7 separate regions of the Homo sapiens genome follow, and regions 1, 2, 3, 5, 6 and 7 are each linked to region 4. The links are contacts of gene promoters, found by promoter capture Hi-C in human tissues and cell types (Jung and others, 2019). All regions are on one chromosome and are shown on one strand. The core of a region is centred on a gene start or on the middle of the fragment in contact, and the rest is flanking DNA. Distances in the headings are between cores, read along the strand shown.

Evidence for each region. The method cuts DNA at HindIII sites, captures the fragments that hold promoters and counts their contacts. A contact is called where the count stands out against the background at its distance.
Region 1: a contact is called between the fragment with the promoter of B4GALNT4 here and the fragment with the promoter of TALDO1 in region 4, in 3 of the 25 tissues and cell types used here (lymphoblastoid cells, pancreas and spleen).
Region 2: the fragment with the promoter of NLRP6 here is called in contact with the fragment with the promoter of TALDO1 in region 4 in 1 of the 25 tissues and cell types used here (lymphoblastoid cells).
Region 3: a fragment that was not itself captured here is called in contact with the fragment with the promoter of TALDO1 in region 4 in 1 of the 25 tissues and cell types used here (heart left ventricle).
Region 5: the fragment with the promoter of SIRT3 here is called in contact with the fragment with the promoter of TALDO1 in region 4 in 2 of the 25 tissues and cell types used here (lymphoblastoid cells and spleen).
Region 6: a fragment that was not itself captured here is called in contact with the fragment with the promoter of TALDO1 in region 4 in 1 of the 25 tissues and cell types used here (adrenal gland).
Region 7: a contact is called between a fragment that was not itself captured here and the fragment with the promoter of TALDO1 in region 4, in 2 of the 25 tissues and cell types used here (adrenal gland and spleen).

What each region holds. Positions count from the first base shown.
Region 1 is chr11:367,315-371,122 of GRCh38, reverse strand. B4GALNT4 (beta-1,4-N-acetyl-galactosaminyltransferase 4) reads right to left here and starts at 1,624. Exons shown (of 20, transcript NM_178537.5): 1 at 1,169-1,624. The coding sequence starts at 1,319. RefSeq lists an enhancer at 2,553-3,091. The HindIII fragment of the contact is 30,748 bases long and covers 1-3,808 here.
Region 2 is chr11:276,050-279,730 of GRCh38, reverse strand. NLRP6 (NLR family pyrin domain containing 6) reads right to left here and starts at 1,324. Exons shown (of 8, transcript NM_001276700.2): 1 at 1,133-1,324; 2 at 124-404. The coding sequence starts at 1,161. RefSeq lists an enhancer at 1-24. The HindIII fragment of the contact is 18,362 bases long and covers 1-3,681 here.
Region 3 is chr11:309,204-311,751 of GRCh38, reverse strand. It overlaps IFITM2 (interferon induced transmembrane protein 2), which reads right to left. Exons shown (of 2, transcript NM_006435.3): 2 at 2,357-2,548. Among named protein-coding and RNA genes, the nearest start is that of IFITM2, 2.7 kb to the right of the region's middle. RefSeq lists an enhancer at 1-202. The HindIII fragment of the contact is 1,366 bases long and covers 616-1,981 here.
Region 4 is chr11:744,857-749,023 of GRCh38, reverse strand. TALDO1 (transaldolase 1) reads right to left here and starts at 1,560. Exons shown (of 8, transcript NM_006755.2): 1 at 1,446-1,560. The coding sequence starts at 1,542. LOC105376509 (a long non-coding RNA gene) reads right to left here. Exons shown (of 3, transcript XR_930962.3): 3 at 2,062-2,275. RefSeq lists silencers at 960-1,049, 1,150-1,439, 1,500-2,099 and enhancers at 1,279-1,927, 2,230-2,289, 1,928-2,576. The HindIII fragment of the contact is 22,782 bases long and covers 1-4,167 here.
Region 5 is chr11:234,001-237,669 of GRCh38, reverse strand. SIRT3 (sirtuin 3) reads left to right here and starts at 1,328. Exons shown (of 7, transcript NM_012239.6): 1 at 1,328-1,622. The coding sequence starts at 1,342. It overlaps PSMD13 (proteasome 26S subunit, non-ATPase 13), which reads right to left and starts at 694. Exons shown (of 13, transcript NM_002817.4): 1 at 526-694. The coding sequence starts at 620. RefSeq lists enhancers at 443-682, 843-1,032 and a silencer at 1,183-1,262. The HindIII fragment of the contact is 7,029 bases long and covers 1-3,669 here.
Region 6 is chr11:331,993-335,801 of GRCh38, reverse strand. IFITM3-AS1 (IFITM3 antisense RNA 1) reads right to left here. Exons shown (of 5, transcript XR_007062540.1): 4 at 3,773-3,809; 5 at 2,113-3,099. Among named protein-coding and RNA genes, the nearest start is that of IFITM3, 13 kb to the right of the region's middle. RefSeq lists enhancers at 1,366-1,919, 1,920-2,473. The HindIII fragment of the contact is 4,084 bases long and covers 1-3,456 here.
Region 7 is chr11:251,590-255,176 of GRCh38, reverse strand. It overlaps PSMD13 (proteasome 26S subunit, non-ATPase 13), which reads right to left. Exons shown (of 13, transcript NM_002817.4): 11 at 3,551-3,587; 12 at 3,241-3,357; 13 at 2,193-2,672. The coding sequence ends at 2,577. It also overlaps the pseudogene COX8BP. Among named protein-coding and RNA genes, the nearest start is that of PSMD13, 16 kb to the right of the region's middle. The HindIII fragment of the contact is 4,358 bases long and covers 21-3,587 here.

The DNA.
Region 1 (3,808 bases), core at 375-2,874, 380 kb after region 4:
CGCCCCCTCCTGGTTGGGCTTAGACCCCTGCGCTGCTCAGAAAACCACAGAGGAGCCTGCAGAGGGGGCTGGTTTTGTTCTGTGTCACTGGGCCAGCTGTGGATCCTGCCCTGTCTGCTGATAGCTGGGGTGGGGCTTTTTAGGGATTCAGCAGTATCGGGGGTCTCTTGAGGGTGTGGAAGCTGTGAGGTATGTGGGTTGGGACAAGCCCCAGACCCTTGGCCTGTGTGGGTCCAGGCGTCCCGGTACAGGAAGAGAACACAGGGGCTTTGGCAGGTGGAGTGGCCCAGGAGTCCCCAGCCAGTATCATTGTTCTGCCCCCTCAGGACACCTGGCTCCCTGGAAAAGGCTCAGAGGCAGCCAGCTGGGGTCTCTCCTGGTCTGGGCATGGCACTAACCTCCCTCCTCCAGAGGGGGCATTCTGCCCCACCTTCTCCCCCAACCCCACCGCCAGGCTTTCATCTGCGCCTTCCTGTCTGGAATGCTCTTTCCCCCAAAGGTGTATGTCAAAGATCACCATCTCCAGGAGGCCCTACCCCGGCTGGCTCACCGTGACCCCATCTGCTTTGTTTGTGGGTTGGGGTTGGGAGAGTTTACGCCAGGCTCCCCAAGCTGGGCCCCATCCCTACGCATGGACCCCCACAACACTGGCACAGTTCACCGAAGGCGCCCCCGCCGGGAAGCGTCCCAGCTGCACCGGCCACTTCAGCAAGCCCCGGCCCGGGTCCCCAGCACACAGGGAAACTGAGGCCCTGCTAAGCGGGCAGGGGGTGGAGGCGAGGCCTGAGAAGGCCTCTTGGAAGCCTCAGCAGGGTCTAGGGGCAGAGACTTCCCCAGGAGCCCACCGTCAGCCCCTCACTACCGGATCCAAGCCAGATCCCAGAGTCAGGGACCCTCTCTGGGAGGGTCGCGCGCGTCACTGCCGACGTCATCGAGCGTCCGGGCCGAGCCGAACCGCGCCCCCTCCCCCCAAATCGCAGAGCGGAGAACAGCGGGCGGGGTCTCCGGGAGGGTCGGGCCCAGCCGAGACCTCTGTGCGGTGGGAGGCCCGGCCCGCGCCCCGGGGCCCCCGCCGCCCGCGCCGCCCGCGCCCCCCGCGCCGCCCGCGCCCCCCGCGCCCCCCGCGCCGCCCCCGCCCCCCGCGCCCCCCGCGCCCCCCGCGCCGTACCTCGCCCGTAGCCCAGGCGCTGGCGCAGCGCGCGTCCCTGGCGCACCAGGCCCAGGTGCACGTAGGTGAGCCACGCGGCGCAGCTCAGCAGCAGCAGCAGCAGCAGCAGCTTCATCTGCTTACGGATCTTCTTCACCGGGAGCCGCGGCATCGCGGCCGCCGCGCCCGCCCCAGGCCGCGCTCAGCGGCGCCGCTGCAGCCCCCGGCCCCCGCCCGCCCCGCGCCGCATCCCCGGCCCGCCCCGCCGCGCTCAGCGCCCGCGGCCCCGCATGGTCCTTTGTCCGCCGTGCGCGGCCACCGGGTGCGGCCGCGACCCCCCCAGGCCGCCCTCGGCCGCGGGCCCGGGGTGGGCGGCGGGGGCGGCTCCTCGCGGTGCCCCCCGCCCGGCCGCTCCCGGCTCCGCGCTCCTGGGGCGGCGGCGGGACCGAACAGCATCCACGGCTGCCACCGCGGATCGGGCCCCGGCCGCGCGCGCGGAACCAATCGGACCGAGCCAGGCCGCGGGGAGCCAATGGCGGCGCGCGGGGAGGGGTGCGGGGCGCGGGAAGGCGGGGCGGGGCGCGGGGTGCGGGGCGGAGGAGGCGGGGCGAGGGGAGGCGGGGCGGGGCGGGGGGTGCGGAGGGTGCGGGGCGGGGGGTGAGGGGTGCGGGACGGACAGGGATGCGGGGCGCGGGGCGCGCGTCCACCTGGGCCACGGAGCGCGGGGGCGCGGCACACAGACGCGGGGCTGGGAAGCGCTGGGGCTCGGGGACCGTGGGGGGCGGCGGGGGATGGGCACAGCCTGACTGTGGGGCGGGGCGGCCTCCCGAGAACAGTGACCCGAAGGACTGCAGGCGGACAACACGGAGGAGGGAGGGGAGGGACCCGGGGTCCTGGGGGGCGGGGAATGGGGGCGGGCGAGAGAGGCCGGGGGGCGGGGGGGCCCAAGCACCGGCTTCAGCCCAGGGGTGGGAGTCGTTGCGGGATCTCAGCCTGCAGGGCTGGGGCCGCAGGGGGCCGAGCTGTCTGGGCGGCAGGAGGGGCCTCAGCTGGTGGCCCCCGCCCCACCGAGCGCGGCCTGAGGCAGGTGACAGTGTCGTGCCTCTCACCGGGACCTTGTCCCACTTCGTGCCCTTTCTCACCTGGTCTGCACCAACCCCTGCCAGTCCCTCTGTCCCCCCAGTACTTCCCTTGTCCAGCTGCCAGCGTGACCCTACTCTTCTCCCTCTGTCTGCTCAGCTGTCTCTGGGTGTGTAGCAAACCGCCCAGCTTCAGTGCTGTCCAACAGCAGCGTTCCTGTGTTCCTGTGTCCTGTGGGTCAGGAACTCAGGGCACTCGGGGACAGCTCCTCTCTGCTCCTCGAGGTGCTGGCCTCCGGTGGGAAGACGTGAGTGGTGGGGCCGGCTCCGCGGGACAGGCTGGAGCCATCCAGAGACTTCTGCCCCAAGCCAGTGCACCCTCGGCAGGAATGGCTGGGCTCACCCCGGGTGGTTGGCCAGAGCGCCTGCAGGCTCAGCTGCCAGGGGCAGCCTCCCGGTCCAGCACACAGAGTGAAGCATCTTGGAGTCACCCCTCAGGTTTGCCACATGCCGCACGGCCACCCAAGTTCGTGGGTTGTGGGGACGTGGACCCCACCTCACAATGGAAGATTGCCCAGAAGTTGCCTTCTTAAGACCTCAACTCCTTCCCTCCTTCCCCTCCATCCTCCTCCCCTAACTTCTGAGCACAGAAGCAAGCTGGTTACATCCTGCTGTTCATACCGGCCCTTAAACAACACCCGGTCTCTCAAACCTTCCCCCACCCCATCAGCTCCTCATCTCCTGCCTCCTGCAGTCCACTTTTCATATTTCTGTTATCTGCATATTCATTAAAATATAGTGCCCCACCCCTTTTTGAGACAGGGTCTCACTGTGTCTCTGAGGCTAGAGTGCAGTGGTGCAATCTCAGCTCACAGCAGCCTTGACCTCCTGGGCTCAAGCGATCCTCCCACTTCAGGTTCTTGAGGAGCTGGGACTACAGGCATGCATCACCATGCCGGACTAATTTTTTGTATTTTTTTTTTTAACAGATTCAGGGTCTCACCATGTGTCCCGGGCTGGCGTTGAACTCCTGGGCTCAAGTGATCCTCCCGCCTTGGCCTCCCAAAGTGCTGGGATTCCAGGCGTGAGCCACTGTGCCCGGCCAGTGGTGCTCTTTTATGTGTCTCATTCTGTTTCTCCAAGTCCCATATTTTCTATGTGCATCTGTCTGGCTGTGCGTCTAATGCTTTCCCTCTTTCCACTGCATGGCACCCCATCCTAGGCACATTCATCCAGCCAGTGGACGCTACCTAGTATTCTAGTGTCCTGACGAGCCAGGGACTTAGGGGACACAGCAGTGAGCAAGACAGAAAAGGGCCCTCCTTTCATGGAGTTTACATGTTACTAGGCAGGGACAGACCAGTGAACGCATAGTCGCTTTGCTGGTGGTGAGTGACGTGAAGGAGATGAGCTGGGTGATGGAGGGAGGCCGGCTCCCGCTCCAGGGTCGCTCTCTGGGGAGGCAACGGCTGGCCTGACCCGTAAACAGGTTCTTAGAAGGCAAGTGTTGGCAATGTCGGGAGAGACGTGTTTGGGACACTTCATGGGTCCACAGTCAGAGGGTGTCCCCTGTGGATCCAAA
Region 2 (3,681 bases), core at 75-2,574, 470 kb after region 4:
GCCCGCGAATTTGTGGATAAAACGCGCGGGGGCCGGGGACCGCGCCGGGGCTTCTCCGGGAAGCGGGAAGGAGGGCAGCCCAGCCTCTGCCCAGACAGGAGGGACCTCCCGCGCAGAACTCACGCTGCAGCCGCCGCTCCTGGAGCTGCGCCGCCACGTCGCGCGCGTCCGCCCTCTTGAGGGTCTTGCGGGCCACCTCCAGGGCAGGCTCCGGGCCGTAGAACTGGGCCAGCTGCTCCGCGAGGTCCACGGCGTCCGCGCGCTCCAGCCGCCCCCACGGGATGCTGCGTCCGTCCGGGCCCACGTCGCGCAGCTTGTGGCGGAAGCGCTTCAGCTGCTCTTGGCTCAGTTCCTCCAGCGCAGCCAGGAGCAGCTCGCGGGCCACCGCGAGGCGCGGCCCCGTGCTGGAGGCGGGCGGGCGCGGGTCATCGGGGAGCGGCCCTCGGGTGACCCCCGCCCGCCCCCGACTCTGGCGCCGGAGAACCCACCGCGGGCAGGGCCTCAGGGAGTCCCGGGCCAAGCATCGTCTGGATCCATGGGGTGGCGGGAGGGGGCAACGGGGAGTGACCCCAGACTTTTCCCTCCCCCGTCCCCGGACCCGGGTCGGGGCGTCTTGGTGTTCTTCGCCCTCTGAGGGTGAAGTGGGCACTGGCCGCCGCTGATCTGAGCTCTGGGGGGCACCTTCCTCCCCTGCACCTCCCTTTCTGCTTCTGTCCTTCCACACCCCAGGACAGGTCACATGCCCCGAGGGAGGTATTTCCAAGGAACCCTGAGCTCTCTTTCCTCGCTTTCCTTCTTTTCCCTCTCTTCCCGATCCCGGAGCAGAACTGGCCTCTTTGGCAGCAGACACTGCCAGGCCCAGGCTGTATTCCTGGGCCCCCACCCCTGCCACACTTTGGTGGGGCCCAGCTTGGGGCCTTGCACCAGGGCCTGAATCTGAGCCCCTGGTGGGGAACAGACTCCACAAATGCCCTCTGTGGGGAGGCAGTGCTTGGCTCCTGAGCCTGGGAGTGAGGGTGGGGGAAGGATGTGGACAAGGGTGGAGAGCCTGAGGAAGTCAGCGGGTGAGGTGGAGGCCCCAGAGGGCTGAGACCAGCCGGTTCCCAGTGACCACCCTGGGGCCAGCACTCACCTGGAGCAGGGGGCCTCTGGCTGGTCCATGGGGTCTCTTCCTCCCTGGGTCTAGCACTCCGGGGCAGAGGTGGGGATCAGAGAGGTGATTCCTTCACAGGCTGAGCTGGAGCCAAGTCTTAGAGGTTGTCCAGCCCGGTCCATTCCCCGGGTCCACACACCGCAGCTCAGCTGGCACGAGATGCTGTTGGGCACCGTGGCACACGCAGAGCATTGCCCTTTAAGGGCTCCGTTTGGTGACCTTTGATTTTCTTACTCCTTTATCCCATTAATGTTCCCCAAGAACCCCTGGGTGTGGCATCGGGGCATGGCTGTGAGCAGGCAGCTTCAGAGCAAGGTGGGTTGTGTGAAGGAGGTGGCTGGCTCAGAGCCAGGCCTTCAGCTGAGGCCTGGGGAGAGGTTAGACTCTGAAGGCAGGGGTGAGGAAAGACTTCCAGGTAGAGGGAACAGGGGGGACAGCCAGCAGCACGCACCATATATGGGAGGGAAGGCAGTCTCCAGGGAGACGCCGGGCAGGGGTCTGCACTGCAGCCTCCCCACCCGACCTGAACAGCTGGCGGGCAGAGGCTGGACGTCAGGGGTGTTCGAGACCCCTGGGACCAAATGTGAGAGTGTGTGGAACGGGGGGGTTAATATGTGGAAATGAGAGGTGCTGGGTAAAATAAGGCTGAGACCTACTGGGCTGCATTCCCAGGAGGGTAGACATTCTAAGTCACAGGATGAGACAGGAGGTTGACACAAGATACAGGTCATAAAGGCCTTGCTGATAATGGTGTAAAGAAGCTGGCCCAAAACCACCAGAACCAAGATGGCAATGAGAGTGACCTCTGGTCATCCTCACAGCTCATTACTCTAGTTACAGTACATTAGCACACTAAAAGACACTCCCACCAACACGATGACAGTTTATAAATGCCATGGCAAAGTCAGGAAGTTACCCTATATGGTCTAAAAGGGGAGGAACCCTCAGTTCTGAGAATTGCCCACCACTTTCCTGGAAAACTCATGAATAATCCACTCCTCGTTTAGCATATAATCAAGAAATAACCATAAAAATGGGCAACCAGCAGCCTTTGGGGCTGCTCTGCCTATAGAATAGCCATTCTTTTATTCCTTTACTTTCTCAATAAACTTGCTCTCACTTTACTCTTTTTTTTTTTTTTTTTTTTTTCATGGAGTCTCGTTCTGTCGCCAGGCGGAGTGCAGTGGCACGATCTCGGCTCACTTCAAACTCCGCCTCCTGGGTTCAAGCAATTCTCCTGCCTCAGCCTCCTGAGTAGCTGGAATTACAGGCATGCACCACCATGCCTGGCTAATTTTTGTATTTTTAGTAGAGACGGGGTTTCACCATGTTGGTCAGGCTGGCCTTGAACTCTTGACCTTGTGATCTGCCTGCCTTGGACCTCCCAAAGTGCTGGGATTACTGGTGTGAGCGACCATGCCTGGCACTTTACTCTTTATGGATTTGACTCAAATTCTTTCTTGCATGAGATCCAAGAACCATGATGTCTGGATCAAGACCTCTTTCTGATAACAGTTTGGCTGTGTGTCCCCACCCAAATCTCATGTTGAATTGTAATTCCCAATGTTGGGGGAGAGACCTGGTGGCAGGTGATTGGATCATGAAGGTGGATTTCGTCCTTGCTGTTCTTGTAATAGTGAGTAAGTTCTCATGAGATCTGGTTGTTTGAAAGTGTGTAGCATGTCCCACTTTGCTCTCTCTGTCCTTTTGGCCACATGAATATTTGCCTGCTTCCCCTTTGCTTTCTGCCATGATTGTAAGTTTCCTGAGGCCTCCCCAGAAGCAAAAGTCTGTACAGCCCACAGAACCAGGAGCTAGTTAAACCTCTTTTCTTTATAAATTACCCTGTCTCAGGTATGTCTTTACAGCAATGTGAGAATAGACTAAGACAAATTATAACAAGTAAAGAGATTGAATTACTAATTACAGGGAAAAAAAACTTTCCCACAAAGAAAAGCTCTCAAGGGAATGCTTCCCAACTCATTCTCTGAGGCCTGTGACACTGATACCAAAACCAGGCAAACTCATCAGAAGAAAACTGTAAACCAATATCCTTCATGAATACAGGCATGAAAAATCCTTAACAAACTACTTCAGAAACAGAATCTATTAGCATATAAAAACAATTACAAACCATGACTAAGTGTGTTTTCTCTAAGGAGTGCAAGGTTGGTTTAACATCCAAAAATCAATTAATGTAACATATCATAGTAATACTTAAGAGGACAAAAACTGCTTGATCATCTCAATAGAGACAGAAAGAATAGTCTACATTTTCCAACACCTCTTCATGGTTAAAAACACTAAGCAAACTGGGAAGAATGGAAGGAGCTTCCCAATCAGAAAATCCCCCAATATTTGGAATAAACAATACACTTGCAAATAACACATGGGTCAAAAAACAAGTCAGAGGAATTAAAAATACGTTTAACCAAACTGGGCATAGTCCTAGCTACAGGACAGGCTTAAGTGGGAGGATTGCTAGAGTTCAAGACCATCTTTGGCAGGGTAATAAGACTTCTGTCTTT
Region 3 (2,548 bases), core at 49-2,548, 440 kb after region 4:
TCATCTCCAACCGGACCGGTCAGCGCTCCTGACTCACTGGCCGCCTACCCACCATATCATCCTTCGAAACTCGGATCCCCACGTTTTTGGGGAGAAGGATTTGAGTAATAATAAAACTCCCGTCTCCCCCGCAGCCGGCTCTGCGTGAATTACACTTTCCTTATTGCGATTCCCCTGCCCCGATGCGACCAAGGGGCCCGCCCAGGAGCGCAGAGAATCCATTAAGGGGTCACAGGACCGGGCTCCCAGGGTGACTCCCTGGCCACCAAGTCCTCCAGCAGGTCACTCCTGGATTCCGGCTGGACCCCCTGCCCAGGGAGGGGCCCAGGAGACGCGGAAATCGGGTCCCCCGCGGGTGAAGGGGAGGTGGGAGCCCCAGAGGAGGGCGGGAAGGCTCGGCCGGGGACGTGCCCGAGGGGGAGGAGAGGGGCTCCCGTCCGGGTCCGGCGCTGCGGGTCTCAGGGTCCGCGTCCCGCCCACCCCGCGGGGGTCTGGGCTGCGGGCGGAGCCTCCTCCGGGACCTGCACCTGCGCCGGCCGCCGCCAGGGGCGCCGCTGAGCACCCGCCTCCGCCGCTTCCCCCTCCCCGCCGGGCGGGGCCGCGCGCCTCCCACCCGGGACCCACTTCGGAGTTCGCCCCCTTCGGGACTCGCCTCCGGGAGACCCCCGAGGGGGAGAGGGCGCTTCCTCCGCGTCCATCGCCCTTGCCGCCCCTGGGGTGAGAGCGCGGCTCCGGGGCTGGGGGCGGGAAAGGGTGGGGAGGGCGAGTAGATCCAGACCTGGAGTCGCGGGTGGACGGCGGGGCGGGGGCGCGCATGGCCACCCCAGCTCCCACCGCGGCCGCCCATGGGGCACCCCACATGCGCACACCGGAGACCGAACCGGGGAAGGGCGCTGTAACCAGGTCGGGGCGGGGGTGTCTGTCCGGGGGCTCAGACCCGGGTAGAGGTAACTTAGATGAGGGTCGCTCCACTCTCCTGCGCCGCCCCCACCACGGGGGAGCAGGGCCCATACCCGCTGGACGGGAGGGGGCAGCTGCCACGAAGCAGCACCTGGTCACCCAGGAGGGGCTGCGAGGCCCGGGGCTCCTTCAGCTGCTGCCCTGGGCACAAAGCCCCCTCCCTCCCACGGGCCCTGAGCTGCCCACATCTGCAGGACTGGCTGCTCCAGACAGCTCGGAGGCAGGCAGCGCGGTGCCCCCTCCACCCCCGAGGAACTAAAGCCAGGTCCCCAGCACCACAGAGCAGGGCCTGGGAGCAGCTGGGGAGCCGGTGCCACCTTGCCCCTCCCTGGCCCTGCTGGGGGCTTAACCCTTCCCTCTGTCCTGAGCCGACAGCCTGGATTGCCGACAGGCCGCGAGCGTGGCCTTGGGCCCAGGGTGTCCCGGACTCAGCACTGACGTTCCCGGAAAGAGCCCACGTTGAGTAGGAGCTGAGACCTGCAGGACACAGGAACTCCTCCCAGGGTCCTGGATCCAGCTGCTGCTCACGGCAGGAGGCCCGAAACCAGAAGGCCTGAGCACTTGCCCCGTCCCCAAGAGATGCACAGAGGCTGGAAGGGGCAGTGCAGGGGCTGACCAACCTGCTCATGAAAGGAGGGTCCAGCTGGGCTTCCTGGGTCGAGTAGGGGTTCAGAAAGCTGTGAAACACTCATTTCCTGCATCAGGACTTACTTCGGTCCTGGATGAAGAGTACTGAAGATACATGCCTAAAATATTCCTAACACCAGGATTTGTGCATGTGTTTCCTTCCCCAAGAAAGCTATAAACAGCAAAAATTCTGCTGTAAGCTTCCCTGTGTCCTCTCTCCCTCTCTTCCTTCCCCCTCCCCTAAAACTAAAAGGAATGTTAAAAGACCCTTTTTCTGTGACCAGCGGACCTTATCTATGCTCCCAATTCCAATTCCTTGTGAACATACTTTGTAAAGTCCTGTAAAATCCTGTCTCTTTTGCCATGCTGCTGCAAGGTCATAAAGTAGATAAAATTAGATAAAACCTAAGTTGCAATTCTGTTTTTCCTCAAAATCTAAGACATGTCACAAAATAATTTACTGCCTTTGTTTCTCTCTCTGGTAACATCTTCCCACCACATGTATTTCCCGCCTTAAAGAGATTAAAAGGCAATCACCCAAAACCAACAGTGGCTACCCTCTCCGGACCCCTTCCATGCTGTGTAAGCTTTGTACTGTCACTCTGCTCAATAAAACCTACAGTTTTTTTCTTCTCTTGGTCTGTGTCTCCATCACTCGCCGCGGGCAGCCGCCACACCCAATTCTTTGGTGTGGCTAAGGCAAGAACGTTTGGCATTACATTTAATCTCAGAACCAGCAGGACCGCTCCCCAGGTGAAGTCACAGCAGCACCAGAAACATATACACTTTATTGAATGCCATTGTAGAAAAGCGTGTGAGGATAAAGGGCTGATGCAGGACTCGGCTGTGGGGACAGGGCGAGGAATGGAAGGTGGAGTAAGTGGAATACAGGTCAAGGGCAGAGCTCCTGGCCTCTGGGGGCAGGGCGAGGAATGGAAGATAGAGTACGTGGGATACAGGT
Region 4 (4,167 bases), core at 311-2,810:
CTGCACTGCCAAGTGTAATGGACCTGACACTCCGCACCAGCTCTGCCCTAACTGGTGAGGGCCAGTAAGGAACAATACAGATGAGCGCTCTGTCCACCAGGCAAACTGCAAATTATTCTCAGTGCTAAGAAGGGAAAAAACTGAGCAGCAGAAAAATGTGTAGCCCCTTTTCTGGAGCTTTCTTTCTTATGAAGAGAGGTCTGGACTACAACGGGGGGGCTGTGTGTGTGAGGGATTCACAGCTCTAGCTTTGGATCTCCCAAAGAGGGGTCCGGAGCAGACTGTGGCACCCCAAGCCAGTCACTGAATCCCCATATTTTATGGTTAAGCAGCCAAACATGCCAATTCACTCTCTAGGCTCTGCTAGATAAACAATGCCCTTACTCAGTTACCAAAGAGGAATTAAAGCCTGTTTCTCAAGTCACCATGAGAAAGCAGAAAAGAGAGGAAGTCACTTCCGTATTAGGTGCTCGCAGCATTCATCCATGAAGCGTTTCATGATTTTCTTAAAAAATATTACTTGTTCTCAACAAAACATAGACACAAGGCTCGTCTACTCTGCACTGCAGAGGACAGAAGAGCTAAGTATTAATAAATAATCCTTCTTTGTATTTTCCAAGTTCTCTCCAATGTAAACAACTCAAGCCCAGGAAAATCCAGTATTTAACAGTGTACCAACCCTGTGCTTTCATGGGCACCGGCTTTTACCCACCCGGTGCGTCTGGCGGTGGCTGTCCAGCAGGCCGGGCACCTGCCGCCCACGGAGTTGTCCCACTGGGCACCGCAGGGCTCAAGGGCGATGGCAGCACTGGCAGCTTCTGGTCAGAGCTAGCTGATGTCCCCGCTCTGCAGACATCAGCCCAACAAAATTGCATCTCGCTGACCACAAACTGGCCACGTGGAAGTCAGCTCGAAGCTCTACCCTGAATCTCTCCTGAACTCAAAGGCTCTGAAAGCTGCCTCGACCCATGAAGGTGCACAGAGGGGCTCCCGCGGGCTGCCCACAGCCCGTCCCGGGTGCGGGGTCTGAGGGCGCAGCCGACCCCACCCTGGGCGGAGGGCGAGGCTGGGGCTCCGGCTTCGTGCCCCACGGCTCGCAAGGACCCGTCAGTACCGCCCGCACCGCTGACCCCAGCACCGAGCCCCTCACGGCTGACCCCAGCTCCTCACGGCTGCCCCCGGCCCTGCTCCCTCACGGCCGACCCGGGCCCCGTTCCCCTCACGGTCGCCGCTGGCCCTGCGCCTCTCACGGCCGACCCGGGCCCCGCTCCCCTCACGGCTGTCCCTGGCCCCAACATCCGGCACCTGCGCTCATTCCTCCCGGAACGAGCCGCCCGGGGCACCGCCACCCGGTCCGCGTCCCGGAACGGGAGACCCGGGGAAATCGGGGCGCCGGGGCCTCTGGAGGGCGCTTGCGCCGCGCCCGGGCTCCGCGCCGTCCTCACCGTGGAAGTCGCCCGTGTCGGCCACCACGGTGGTGAACTGCTTGAGCTGGTCCAGCGCGGACTCCATCCTCTGACGCTTCACGGGTGAGCTCGACATAGCAAGACCGAGGGGTCTGCGGCGGCGGCGGCGGCGACGGGACGGGCGCGCGGACGGCCCACAATGCCCCGCGGGCGGCTGCCAATCGGAAAGCGGCGCGGGAGGGCGAGGCCCGCTGGTCCCTGCGCGCCTGGACGAAGCCCCGCCCCCGGGGACGAAGCCCGAGCGCCACTGCCGGCCGCGCACCGCAGCTGCGGATCCTACAGGCTGGGTCTCCCCAGGTCCTCAGCAGCCGCCGCGGACGGGCCCGGGAAAACACCTGCACGACACGGGGCGGCTGGGCCTCGCCTCCTTCCTGCCCCGCGGGACGCACCGGGAGGGCTGGAGGAGATGGACCTGGCCCGGGTGCCGACTCTGCGGGGCTGAACCCGCCAGGGCCGAACCCGGCGATGCAGGATCCATGGTGGGGCCAGGACTGGGGTCGGGGGCCGCTGCAGGAAGCAGGGGAGGGAGCGGCGGGGGACGCCCTGCGGGTGCAGGAGGCAGAGCAGGGGGCGGCTGCAGAGCCCGGGCGCCGGACGCGGCGGGGAACCTGCTTCTGGGAATCTGTTCCCCTGAGTCCTAAGCCCAGAGGTGTCCGGGGGACCGAACGGCGAGGCAGGCGTAGGAGGCCCAGCTGCCCTGCTTCTTACCATCGCTGACTTGCAGAGTTCCTTGTATATTCTGATCAAGTCTCTGTCGCTTGTGTCTGCGTTGCAGACACTGTAACCGCCCCATGGGTTCGCCTTGCCAGCTGCCGGGACAGAGTCTATTGTCAAGACAGGGGAATTGCAATAGAGAAAGCATAATTCACACAGAGCCGATTGTTCGGGAGACCAGAGTTTTATTCCTCAAATCAGTCTCCCCAAAACTCGGGGATCCCAGTATTTAAGAATAATTTGGTGGGTAGGGGGCCAGTGAGTCAGAAGTGCTGACTGGTCAGCTAGGGATGAAATCACAGGGAGTCGAAGCTGTCCGCTTATGCTGAGTCAGTCCCTGGGTAGAGGCCACACAACTGGTTGGCAGGTCCAGGTGGGGCCATCCGGTTGTCAGAAATGCAAAAACCTGAAAAGACTTTTTTTTTTTTTTGAGACGGAATCTCGCCCTTGTTGCCCAGGCTGGAGTGCAGTGGCGCGATCTTGGCTAACTACAACCTCCGCCTCCCGGGTTCGAGCGATTTTCCTGCCTCAGCCTCCCGAGTAGCTGGAATTACAGGCGCTCACCACCACGCCCGGCTAATTTTTGTATTTTTAGTACAGACGGGGTTTCATCATGTTGGCCAGCATGGTCTCGATCTCCTGACCTCGTGATCCGCCCACCTCAGTCTCCCAAAGTGCTGGGATTCCAGGCGTGAGCCACCGCGCCCGGCGGAAAAGACTTCTTAAAAGGCAAATCCTAGGCTGACGCGGTGGCTCAGGCCTGGAATCCCAGCACATTGAAAGGCCAAAGCAGGCGATCACTTGAGGTCAGGAGTTGGAGACCAGCGTGGCCAACATGCAAAACCCCGTCTCTACTAAAAATACAAAATTAGCCAGGCGTGGTGGCACATGGCTGTAATCCCAGCTACTTGGGAGGCTGAGGCAGGAGAATGGCTTGAACCTGGGAGGTGGAGGTTGCAGTGAGCCGAGATTGTCCCTCTGTACACTAACCTGGGCTACAGAACGAGACTCCATTTAAAAAAAAAAAAAAGGCCAACCCTAGGTTCACAGTAGTGTTGATATCTTGGGGAAGTTGCAAATCTTATCTTATGACCTCCAGAATAATGGCTGATAATATTTAGACTTCCAGCCCCTCTCATTCTAACTTGGTGGCTGGTGGCCTTTCATTCATTTTACAAGAACAGTCTAGTTTTGGGGAAGGGCTATTATTTAAACTATAAATTAAATTCCTTCCCAAGACTTGTTTGGCCTATGGCCAGTAATGGACAAGGACCGTTTGAAGGTTAGAAACAAGATGGAATTGGTTAAGTCTGTTATCTTTCACTGTCATAATTTCCTTAGTTATAATTTTGCAAAGGTGGTTTCAATACTTCCTCTCAGCATGTGTTCCCTTTTCATTTTAATAGTGTCTTTAATGAACGTTAGCTTTTTATTTTGATTAAGTTCAATTTATCAAGTTTTAATTTTATATTTACTCCTCTTTTTTGGTATCTTCTCTAAGGAGTCTTTGCTTGCTCCAAAGTGACAAATTTTTTTTTTTTTCTGGTGAGATGGAGATTTACTCTTGTTGCCCAGGCTGGAGTGCAATGGCGCGATCTCAGCTCACCGCATCCTCCGCCTCCCAGGTTCAAGCGATTCTCCTGCCTCAGCCTCCCGAGTAGCTGGGATTACAGGCATGGGCCACCATGCCCGGCTACTTTTGTATTTTTAGTAGAGACGGGGTTTCACCGTGTTGCCCAGGCTGATCTCAAACTCCTGACCTCGTGTTCCACCTGCCTCGGCCTCCCAAAGTGCTGGGATTACAGGTGTTAAGCAACTGCGCCCGGCCAACGCCCAGCTAACTTTTGTATTTTTAGTAGAGACAGAGTTTCACCGTGTTAGCCAGGATGGTCTCAATCTCCTGACCTCGTGATCCGCCCACCCTAGTCTCCCAAAGTGCTGGGATTATAGGCGTGAGTCACCACGCCCAGCCAACAAAAATATTTTT
Region 5 (3,669 bases), core at 79-2,578, 510 kb after region 4:
AGCTGCAGAATGAATAGGGAAAACAGCAAAGCTGTACTAGCCTCTGGTTTATCAACTCCAGACCATGAGAAAGATAACTGTAGATACAGTTACACTATGACAAGGCTAAGCACGAATCACCAACATGTTTCCCAAAGTGGGTGGTGGCCCTGAAAGTGTGTTTGCTTGTTAGATGGAATCAAGAGCTAAAATCAAAGGCTACTCCTGAACCGTTTTAGTAAGACCCGAGGTAGGAGTTCAGAAGCCTCAGTCTCAGTCCCCCGTTAAGGAAGCAGTGAATCTCAGACCGAAACATCCTGGCTACAGCTCTTGGCCCTCGTGGTCTGTCATCCCTCTTATTCCTCGACCCTGCCACTCAAGGTTCCTCAGCAAACCTTGCCGGCACAGCCGGTCGCTACACGTCCCCGTTTCCCCCCAACTTGGGTCTGGGCGCCCTCAGCCCATCAAGGGTCCGCTCCTCCGCCCGCCTGCCCCCTCCGTCTCCCTCTATCGCCGGGGCCCAGGGCCCGTCTGCTCGGCGCTCACTTCTTCGTGTAGAGCTCCTCCAGACGGTGCCACACAGCGGGCTGCCCGGGCCCGGAGTTCTGGCTCTGCTGTAGGAAGCCCGGTACGTCCTTCATGACAGCAGGAAGACCCCCGGCACAGAAGAACAACCGGGATGTCAGCACCGCGGGGATGGCTGCCGGAAATGCTCACTCACTTCCGGCGCCGAGCGGCGCGGGGCAGGCTGGGAGCGCCGTAGCAGGCCGGGGGCGGGCCCCGCTGGTTGCTCGGTTACAGCGCGTCTCTGCGCTCCGGACAAAACTCTCCGGCGTTTGCAGCCCACTTCCCGCGCACTTGGCTGTGCCATTGAGGCGTCAAAGAGTGTGGGCGCCTGTGGTCGAACCCGCTACGGACTAGCTTTGTGGTGTCAGCCTTTGTGACCCGGAATTGCTCCTGTCAAATGAGGATCTTCCCAGTAGTGTTTTGCGAGGATTAGGTGTAAATATAATGCCTGACCATAGTAAAAGCGCTCAGAAAGTATTAACTATCACCGCCATCCGGGTTGAAAAAGGTGTGAGCGCAGGGTACAGAAATGCTGGCTCCAGGTTTGACCTCCGGGGCGAGAGATGAGACACCAGACTAGGGAACTTCCTCTACTCGCCTCTACGTCTACCTGGGCGCGCCGGAGGCGTCGGCAAGGAGGCGGGGGCGGGGCGCGGAGGCGGGACCGGGGCGCCGGGGGCGGGGGCGGTAGGCGGAGGCGGGGCTGGGGCGCCGGGGGCGGGGGTGGGAGGCGGAGGCGGGGCCGGGGCGCCGGGGGCGGGGCGAGTCCGGAGGACTCCTTGGACTGCGCGGAACATGGCGTTCTGGGGTTGGCGCGCCGCGGCAGCCCTCCGGCTGTGGGGCCGGGTAGTTGAACGGGTCGAGGCCGGGGGAGGCGTGGGGCCGTTTCAGGCCTGCGGCTGTCGGCTGGTGCTTGGCGGCAGGGACGATGTGAGTGCGGGGCTGAGAGGCAGCCATGGGGCCCGCGGTGAGCCCTTGGACCCGGCGCGCCCCTTGCAGAGGCCTCCCAGACCCGAGGTGCCCAGGGCATTCCGGAGGCAGCCGAGGGCAGCAGCTCCCAGTTTCTTCTTTTCGAGGTATTTTGGGCAAGGACAAGCACTTCTTGCGTGTTCGTTGTCGACACCTCGCCCACTCTTTCTCACCTTGCCGTGTTTCCTTTGCGGCATGTCTGGGAGTTTACGTGCGTTCCAACACCGGGGCCTCCGTCTTTATGCTGATCTGTGGACGTCACTTATGGGGGTTTTGTCGTTTATTTCACCATTCCCTCATTGAAATACGTTCTAACCTTTAGTTATTGTGCATCATGCTGTGGTGAATAACCTTGTTGGCACCTCACTGTTTGCATAAATTCCTAGTACTGGGATTGCTAGGTCCAAAAGTATATGCATTTAACGCTTTAATGATCCCTCATAAATGTTGTGCGGTTAATACTCCCACTGGCATGTGATCGTACCCGTCTCCATAGTAATTGCATCTAAGAACTGAGGCTACATAGGAAAAAATCTTAAGGTCCATGGTTGTTAGGTATCAGATGCCCTATAATGGATGAATATTTAAGTAAATAATGGCACATTGACTTGCTGTCTGACACAACTGCTGAAAATGTTGGTGAAAAGTGAGTCTCGAAGTGGTAGCTCACACTTGTAATACCAGCACTTTCGGAGGCTGAGACGGGGATCGCTCGAGGCCAGGAGTTCAAGAGCAGCCTGGGCAACATAACGAGACCCCCATCTCTACCAAAAATTTAAAAATTAGCCGGGCATGGTGGCGCAAGCCTGTTGTCCCAGTTACTCCTGAGACTAAGGCAAGAGGATCCCTTGAGTCCAGGAGTTCAAGGCTGCAGTGAGCTATGATTGAGCCACTGCACTCCAGCCTGGGTGACAGAGCAAGACTCTTATCTACCTGTGGGAAAAAAAAAAGAAAAAAGTTTAATAGATCCTGAAGAGTTGGCCGGGCGCGGTAGCTCACGCCTGTAATCCCAGCACTTTGGGAGGATGAGACGGGTGGATAACGAGGTCAGGAGTTCGAGACCAGCTGGGCCAACATGGTGAAACCCCATTTCTACTGAAATTACAAAAATTAGCCGGGCGTGGTGGCGGGCGCCTGTAATCCTAGCTACTCAGGAGGCGGAGGCAGGAGAATCACTTGAACCCGGAAGGCAGAGGTTGCAGTGAGCCGAGATGGCACCATTGCACTCCAGCCCGGGCGAAAGAGCAAAAACTCCGTCTCAAAAAAAAACAAAGATCCCGAAGAGTCAGTCGTTCATCCAAGAAGCCCTGACTGAGCTCTTATTCTGTGCCAGACTCTGTTCTAGGTGCTATGGATGGAGCAGGGACCAGGACCTACAAACACGTGGAGCGCATTCTAATATCTGTGATACTCTGCAAAACTGTTAAAACAAATCCTTGCGGCCGGGCGCGGTGGCTCACGCCTGTAATTCCAGCACTTTGGAAGGCCGAGACGGGCGGATCACGAGGTCAGGAGATCGAGACCATCCTGGCTAACACAGTGAAACCCCGTCTTTACTAAAAATACAAGGAAATTAGCCAGGCGTGGTGGCGGGTGCCTGTAGTCCCAGCTACTCGGGAGGCTGAGGCAGGAGAATGGCGTGAACCTGGGAGGCGGAGCTTGCAGTGAGCCGAGATCGCGACACTGCACTCCAGCCTGGGCAACAGAGCGAGACTCCGTCTCAAAACAAAACAAAACAAAACAAAACAAAAATCCTTGCTACCACTGGCCCTAAAGCAGGAGGCATAGGGCTGCGTGTGAGGAGTAGTCCATTGCATGGGCTTCCTCCAGTTTGGCTTTGGATTTTTGAGCTCTCTGAATTTGTTGTTTGTGTCCTTTGCACAGTGTCCCTCCCAGGTTGCACCCATGCCTGCCCCTCAGGGTCCCCCACTCCCAGTGAATTTCACACCATGCAGCATGTACTTTAAGCCATACATCTTACGTATGTTCCAGACATTTGGTAAAACGCCGTTTATGTGTTTTTCAGTGACTCACAAACATTTTATTTACGTAAATGAGGAATGTACTCAGGCACCCTTCGTGATACCTTGCCCTCAGCAGGCACTCAACAGCAATAATAACTTTCATTCCTTTTGTGCTTCTCTTAACAGTTCG
Region 6 (3,809 bases), core at 165-2,664, 410 kb after region 4:
TTCGGCCTGCTTTGGGGGAGAGGAGTTCTATTTTCTGTGGGGAAAAGGAATTCTGGTTTCTGTGATTCACACTGGGGAGAAAATGGGGCAGGAAATAGGAGGGAAGGAGAAGGTCAGAGAGGCTTTTGCTTCTGAGGGGCCCTTAGTGCCTCCATAGCCAAGTACTCAACATGCCAAAGGGCCGTATTTGAAGATCACATTTGGAGCCCTAACAACAAAAAGGAGGGACTCAACAAGTTTTGTGGTGCCAGGCATGGCGGGAGGAGAGCCTGAGGCCAGGAGTTTGAGACCAGCCTAGGCAACAGCAAAACTCCATCTTAAGAAAAAAATGTGTATATGTGTGTGTGTGTGTATTTGTTGAATGAATGAATAAATATAAATTTTTAGAAAAGTTATGCCGAGCGCGGTGTCTCACGCCTGTAATCCCAGCACTTTGGGAGGCCGAGGCGGGCGGATCACGAGGTCAGGAGATCGAGACCATCCTGGCTGACACGGTGAAACCCTGACTACTGAAAATACCGAAAATTAGCCGGGCGTGGTGGCGGGCGCCTGTAGTCCCAGCTACTCAGGAGGCTGAGGCAGGAGAATGGCGTGAACCCGGGAGGCGGAGGTTGCAGTGAGCCAAAATCGCGCCACTGCACTCCCGCCTGGGCCACAGAGCGAGACTCCATCTCAAAAAAAAAAAGAAAAGTTATAAAAGAAAAAATCTCTCATGATAATCACCAAAAGAAAAAAACCCCAAAAGTAGGGCAAATAGAAAATATAAAAACTATGGCAGAAATGTCCTTGTAGAAGAATTATTATAATAAATATGAATTAAAAGACAGATTTAATAAGAGATACATTTTAAGAAAAGACCCAGAAATATGGAAAAGTTCTCTGAAACTGAACTTGGGTGATTCCCGGTGCCTGACGGAATCAGCAGGCAATCCTCCCCTGATGGAGATAACACCCCAGGCCTGGAAGTCGCTCCGTGTCCAACAATGAAGCATAAACAGGCACCGTGGAGAGAGAAGACAGTGAGGGCGAGGGACAAGCGGAGCCACAGGCAGCAAAAACTCCGGGTGCTGGAATTCCCAGACAATAAAGCAGCGGTGCGCGCTATGCTTTTGGAAACAAAAGGTAAACTTGAAGATTTTTTCAAGGAATGGGAAATGGATACGGTGATACAGTAAGAAAAACCGGCTTGGCCTTCGTTCCCGGTTCTGCAGAGCCCCTAACATCCTTGTGATTCCGAGGCGATGAGGAGTAAAGATAGAGCTCCTCTCAACCACACCTGCGTTTACGCTGTGAGAGGCCTTTGGAAAGGGGCTCTGGTTGCCAGGCGATTTGAGGGCTGGAACTGCCGGCCCCACCCTCAGCCTGTGGGGAGGGGAGAGGGACTGGATTGAGTCAGTCCTTAGGGGAATGATTTAAGCAATCGTCCCTACATAATGAGGCCTCCATAGAAAACCCTAATCAGCAGACGTCCAAGAACTTAGATGTTGGAAGCTCTAACTCATCGTGTTTGGGTTTAGCCAACACTCGATTAGGTTTGGTTTAACCCACACGTGGGTGTTGAAATCCTGACAAAAAGCAAGAATGTGTTCACCACAGAAGTCCGGAGTGGTGGTCTTTGGGATGGGAGGGGTGGTTGTCAGGCCTCTGAGCCCAAGCTAAGCCACCGTATCCCCTGTGACCTGCACGTATATACGCCCAGATGGCCTGAAGCAAGTGAAGAATCACAAAAGAAGTGAAAATGGCCTGTTCCTGCCTTAACTGATGACATTATCTTGTGAAATTCCTTCTCTTGGCTCATGCTGGCTGGAAAAGCTCCCCCACTGAGCACCTTGTGACCCCCACCCCTGCCCGCCAGAGAACAACCCCCTTTGACTGTAATTTTCCTTTACCCACCCAAATCCTATAAAACGGCCCCACCCCTATCTCCCTTCGCTGGCTCTGTTTTTGGACTCAGCCCGCCTGCGCCCAGGTGATTAAAAAGCTTTATTGCTGACACAAAGCCTGTTTGGTGGTCTCTTCACATGGACGGACGCGAGTGAAAGTCGTGACTGGGCAGGGACAGGCAGGCATCTTCTCGGGGATGGGTAATGCACCATTTTTTGACTAGGGTGATAGTTTTTTACTTTCGTATTTTATACATTTTGCTGTAAATTTATTAAATTTCACAATAGGGAAACGTTAAAAATATATGCACCCATCAACACAGACTTTAAATACACCAGGCAACCACAAATAGAAATGCTGGGAGAAGTGGGTTCAGCAGTCATCATATTTCTGAAGTCACCAAAATTCTGCCAGGAAAAGGTCTGGAGCACCTGTGAGGCCAAGGCTAAGATCTCCAGTGAGGGTGAGACTAAGCTGAGGACCTGCAGATGACTGCTGCAATGGCCATCTGCATCAGCCAGGACAGGCTGTGTTAGGCTGCGTAACAAATGGCCCCACGTAATTACGTCCTGTGCACGCTCCACTCCCACTAAGGAGGACTCTGCTCCCCACCCTCATGCAGAGGCCCAGGCGAGGTCACACCTCGACATGCGTCTCCGTGGTCACTGAGGCGAAAGGAAGGAACTCCACAGGAAGACACAACCCTGCCATCTGCCCAGAGGACAGCTGAAGGTGTCTGATGAACAGCACTAATGCGCACCACATCCAGACACCTGCGAGGTACTCAGAAGACTGCCCTTCCTGCAGGCAAAATACACCTGCTTCCTCAAGGGCAACCCGGTGTCCTCCAGCTACATGAAGGTCAAAAGTACACAAGTTGCCGCATCCAGCCTAGCTGTGTCTCCTCCCAAGCTGGAGGGCCCTGAATTAAAAAGATGAAGAGTTTTCTGCCCACGCCCCCAGTATTCAACCAAGGAGCAGGGACAGGGGCTTCGACGGTTTGGAAGGGAAGAAGGCAGATCCCAGCAGTCATGCTCTGCAGCAACTCCAAAGTCCCAGGGGTGGCTGGGTGAGGACGCTGACGCCGGGGAGCAACTTCCGGGAAGAGATGAGGGCTGTGCTTGGTGGAGGGGACACTTCCCATCCCCACGGTCCTCCGTGGCCGCACAGGGTGGGTGCTGGAGAGTTGAGTGGCTTCCTCAGCTCCTTTCTTGCCTATAGAGACATGGGGGGCCCAAGGGCTACTTTGAGTCTCAAGTTGTCATGATCTCTTTGGATCCAGCCTGTGTTTTTAGGACAGTGCAACTCTTTCAAATCTTTGATCAACTTTTTTTTCTTTTTCTTTTTCTTTTTTTGAGGCAGGTGTCATGCGAGTCCATGTGAAGAGACCATCAAACAGGCTTTGTGTGAGCAATAAAGCTTTTTTTTGTTTTGGAGACGGAGTCTGGCTCAGTCACCCAGGCTGGAGTGCAGTGGCACGATCTCGGCTCACTGCAAGCTCTGCCTCCCGGGTTCACGCCATTCTCCTGCCTCAGCCTCCCGAGTAGCTGCGACTACAGGCGCCCGCCACCACACCCGGCTAATTTTTTGTATTTTTAGTAGAGACGGGGTTTCACCGTGTTAGTCAGGATGGTCTCCATCTCCTGACCTCGTGATCCGCCTGTCTCGGCCTCCCAATGTGCTGGGATTACAGGCGTGAGCCACCGCACCTGGCCAGCAATAAAGCTTTTTAATCACCTGGGTGCAGGTGGTCAGCAAAGGGAGATGGGGTGGAGCCATTTTATAGGATCTGGGTGGGTAGCAGAAAATTGCAGTCAAAGAGGTTTGTTCTCTGGCGGGCAGGGGCAGGGGTCACAGGGTGCTGGGTGGGGGAACTTCTGAGACTCACTGTCCAGGAGAAGGAATTTCATGAGGCAATGTCGTCA
Region 7 (3,587 bases), core at 950-3,449, 490 kb after region 4:
TTCAATACTGAAGATATAAATTAGAACACTTATACAGTGTTCTAATTTGTTTTAGGCATTTTTTGCAAAACTGACTCCACAGAAGTGCATTACCACAATGTTGTCTGTGTGTGTAGGTAAAAATGGGATATTTCCTCAATAAATGAAGAGATGTCCTTTTTGTACATCTGCATTTGTGAAAAATTTCTCTAGATCTTGGTTTTTTTGGTGACTGGCTATGTGGTGGTGAACTGTTGCGGTTCTAGATTGAGCCTGTTAGAAGGCGTAGGTTGTTCATCCTGGCTTTTCGGAAGACTGCAGTTATGAACCTGGGCGCACGCAATTCCCACCCGAGCGGTAGGTGTTCATGCATTTCCCCTCTCAACACATTTCTTTACGAATACAGCTCATCTGTGCATAACTGTCATTGGTATGACTGTTTACACTTGCAGAAACATGGATATTATTATTGTCTATTTTATTGTGTGAAGTGGCCTATGATGTGTTCTGTCATATGTCATGTTTTTATGTTTCTCAAATAAATCCCCTTTAAAAATGTAAATAGATGGCCAGGCGTGGTGGCTCATGCCTGTAACCCCAGCACTTTGGGAGGCTGAGGCGGGCGGATCACCTGAGGTCAGGAGTTTGAGACCAGCCTGACCAACATGGAGAAACCCCATCTCTACTAAAAATACAAAATTAGCCAGGTGTGGTGGCAGGCGCCTGTAATCCCAGCTACTCAGAGGGCTGAGGCAGAATTGTTTGAACCCAGGAGGTAGAGGTTGCAGTGAGCGGAGATGGTGCCATTGCACTCCAGCCTGGGCAACAAGAGTGAAACTCCGTCTCAAAAATAAAAAAATGAAAAAAAAGTAAATAAATATCTTTTAAATAATTTTAAAATTATTTTTTCCAGAAATATATTTTCAGAATTTTGATTTTTCGGGATTTCAGCATGCAGAATTGTGTCTCTCTGGGCTGTGATCAGCTCATGTCTGGGATGAGGCAGGAGCCTTGGTGGGGTGCAGGGAGAGCAGATGAGGGTAGGAGCAGGACCAGCAAGGCAGGCAGTGGTCAGAGCACTCAGGCCTTGGGGGTGAGTGAAGCCTGTTGGAGGATGCTGAGCAGCGGCAGCAACAAGACCTGATTGTTCTGGAAGACTGTCTGGGCTGCTGTGTGGAGGAGCGGTTATGGAGGACAGGTTTGAGGCTGGACTTAGGGAGGGTGGGGAGTCAGCGGGCTCGATGTACACATGAGTGTCTGAGGGAAATGGAGGCTCACACTAAGACATTTGGCCTGAGCAGCTGAGAGGGGCTGCGGAAGGTTGAAGGGTGCACCACAGGGCCTTGGGAACTTGACAGTGAGGTGGGTATAAAGGCTAGTGGTCAATAGATCCCAGCAATTGTGACTGACGAGGAACAGCTGGGGTGTCAGGCCATCTGGACCAGGGCCAAACGAGGTCTGGAGAGGGTGGGTGGAAAGACCGAGAGGGGTCTGGGGCCATGAGGTCAGGCGAGGCCTGGACGAGGTGGAAAAAACCAGGAGCTCAGACACCAGCAACCAAAGAGGAAAAGGCTGGAGAAGATGCCGGACAACTGTTCTTTGCCAGCCTAGCAGACTTGTGGGTGCTTTCCTCCAACAGGAGCAGGCCGTGGGGCTCTCACATTCATCAGCTTCCTGGTTCCTGGAGGCTGGGTCTCACCCGACCTGGAGAGCTGCAAGAGCTCCATGCTGTCACTGCAGGCCCAGGACTGAAAGATCACATTAAACTGTCCTTCCACCTAATGTTCACTCTGTGATTCTTTGTGTACGTGCACCTCCACTCCCAGACGGGGAACCTCAAGGTGGTTTCCTTTACATGCCCAGTCCCAGGGATGGCTCATGTCCGCACTGGGGCACACCAGGTCACAGATGCTGGTGGCTATTTGAATGATGAGTGGTGACAAGGATGTGGATGGATGCCTGTGTCGGGGCAGGTACCTGAGAGGGCTGGAGAAGGGAGTGGATACCCCTAGGTCTCTCTTGACTAACAATAAAGATAGGACCAGCGTCTTCGTTAGTCCTTGGTGCTGGATTCTGCCCGTCTACTGTATGTGCAGGGAGGAGAAGGGCCAAGGCTACCCCCACCGTGTCTTCCCAAGGTTCCAACTCATGCTTTTTAACCTCCAGGCACAGGCTTGGCCTGGAAGCTAAGCCCAAGAAAACAGAGCCACAAGAAGAACAAAGCAGAGGGGTTTATTATAGGAACATTCTCAAACCGCAACGGAAAAGATGTCCGTACAGGTGGATGGGGATGGAGATCCACCTCGGAGTACACAGACTTCAGGGGGCCTCCTGCCTGGCACGTTCTTTCTCTCCCGTATCACCTAAGACCCTGAGACCCCCACCCTCTGCAGGAGAGACCCACAAAGAAGCCTCCTCCCTGTGGCCTGGCTCCCATCAGGGACAGTCCTGTTTTTAGAGCAAGAACAGTCTGTACTTCAGACAGGATCCCAACCCCCACCCAAATTCAATGTCGACCGTCTGAGCAGCCAGCTTCATTGGCTGCAAACGCCTCTCTCAGGTGAGTCAAAGGAGACACGACGGGGAACCAGGGGGCCCTAGGTGAGGATGTCATGGGCCTGGTGCTCCACCAGCATCTCCATGCTCTTCACATCCGTGCACCAGAACTCCAGGCGGTCCTTCATTCCCTTGATCTGAAATGGAAATCCGGACACAAGGGACGTTAAGACACGCAGGAGACACAGGCCGAGCGGCCGGCACAGCACCTGATGGGGTGACTCTACATCTCCAGCTAACTCTCTAGGGCAGCTCTAGTAAAAAGGACCTCTGAGCTGGGGGAGTGGGACGGGACTTGCCGGGTTAATTCTTTTCACAGGAACGTTAGAAAAAACTTGCATGAAAGAAAGCAGACAAGGACAGAGGAAATCCACAGGATCGCATTTCCAGCAAATGTAAGAGCGACGTGAGCTCAAATCACAGAACCAGGAACGTATCTGATCAGAGCTCCTATCTTAAGATTAAAAGGCACCGTCAGCACAACCAGTGCCATTGTCATCATAAGCTTTTAAATGCAGGGTTCAAACCCTAGGCTTGCATTAAATTAGGCTCTTAGAAAAACCCAACAGCAGTATTTCCTTCTCCAAAACCTCTTGTCTAATAATGCTGTCTTCCCAAATGGCTTCCATCCAAATGAAACTAAGACGGTATAGACACAACCCCTCAAAATCCACAGAGGTGAATAATGGGTTTCAAACACATCACCTGTTGCAAATCCAACACTCGGGGCTGCACCCAGGTCATGTGGACTCGTTTGTCCACCTCGTCTATACTGCCTTTCACCAGCCCCACCGAAAGGGCCTTCATCACCAGAAGCTCCACCTGTGCAGAGAGGGAGGCGTGTGTAAGACAAGATAGCCTGACACACCCCCATGGACCCAGATGGCTTGTGAGAAGCAGATGCCGCTCCTCCCGTCATTTTTTACTGTCTAGGGAGCACAGCGCTCACACAAGAGCCTTGACTCCTCCATGTGGCAGCTTTGCTGCTCTAACACCCTGAGCCTAGGGACCGTACCTCATTCACTGTGATTTTAGCACTTTTGGCAATTTCT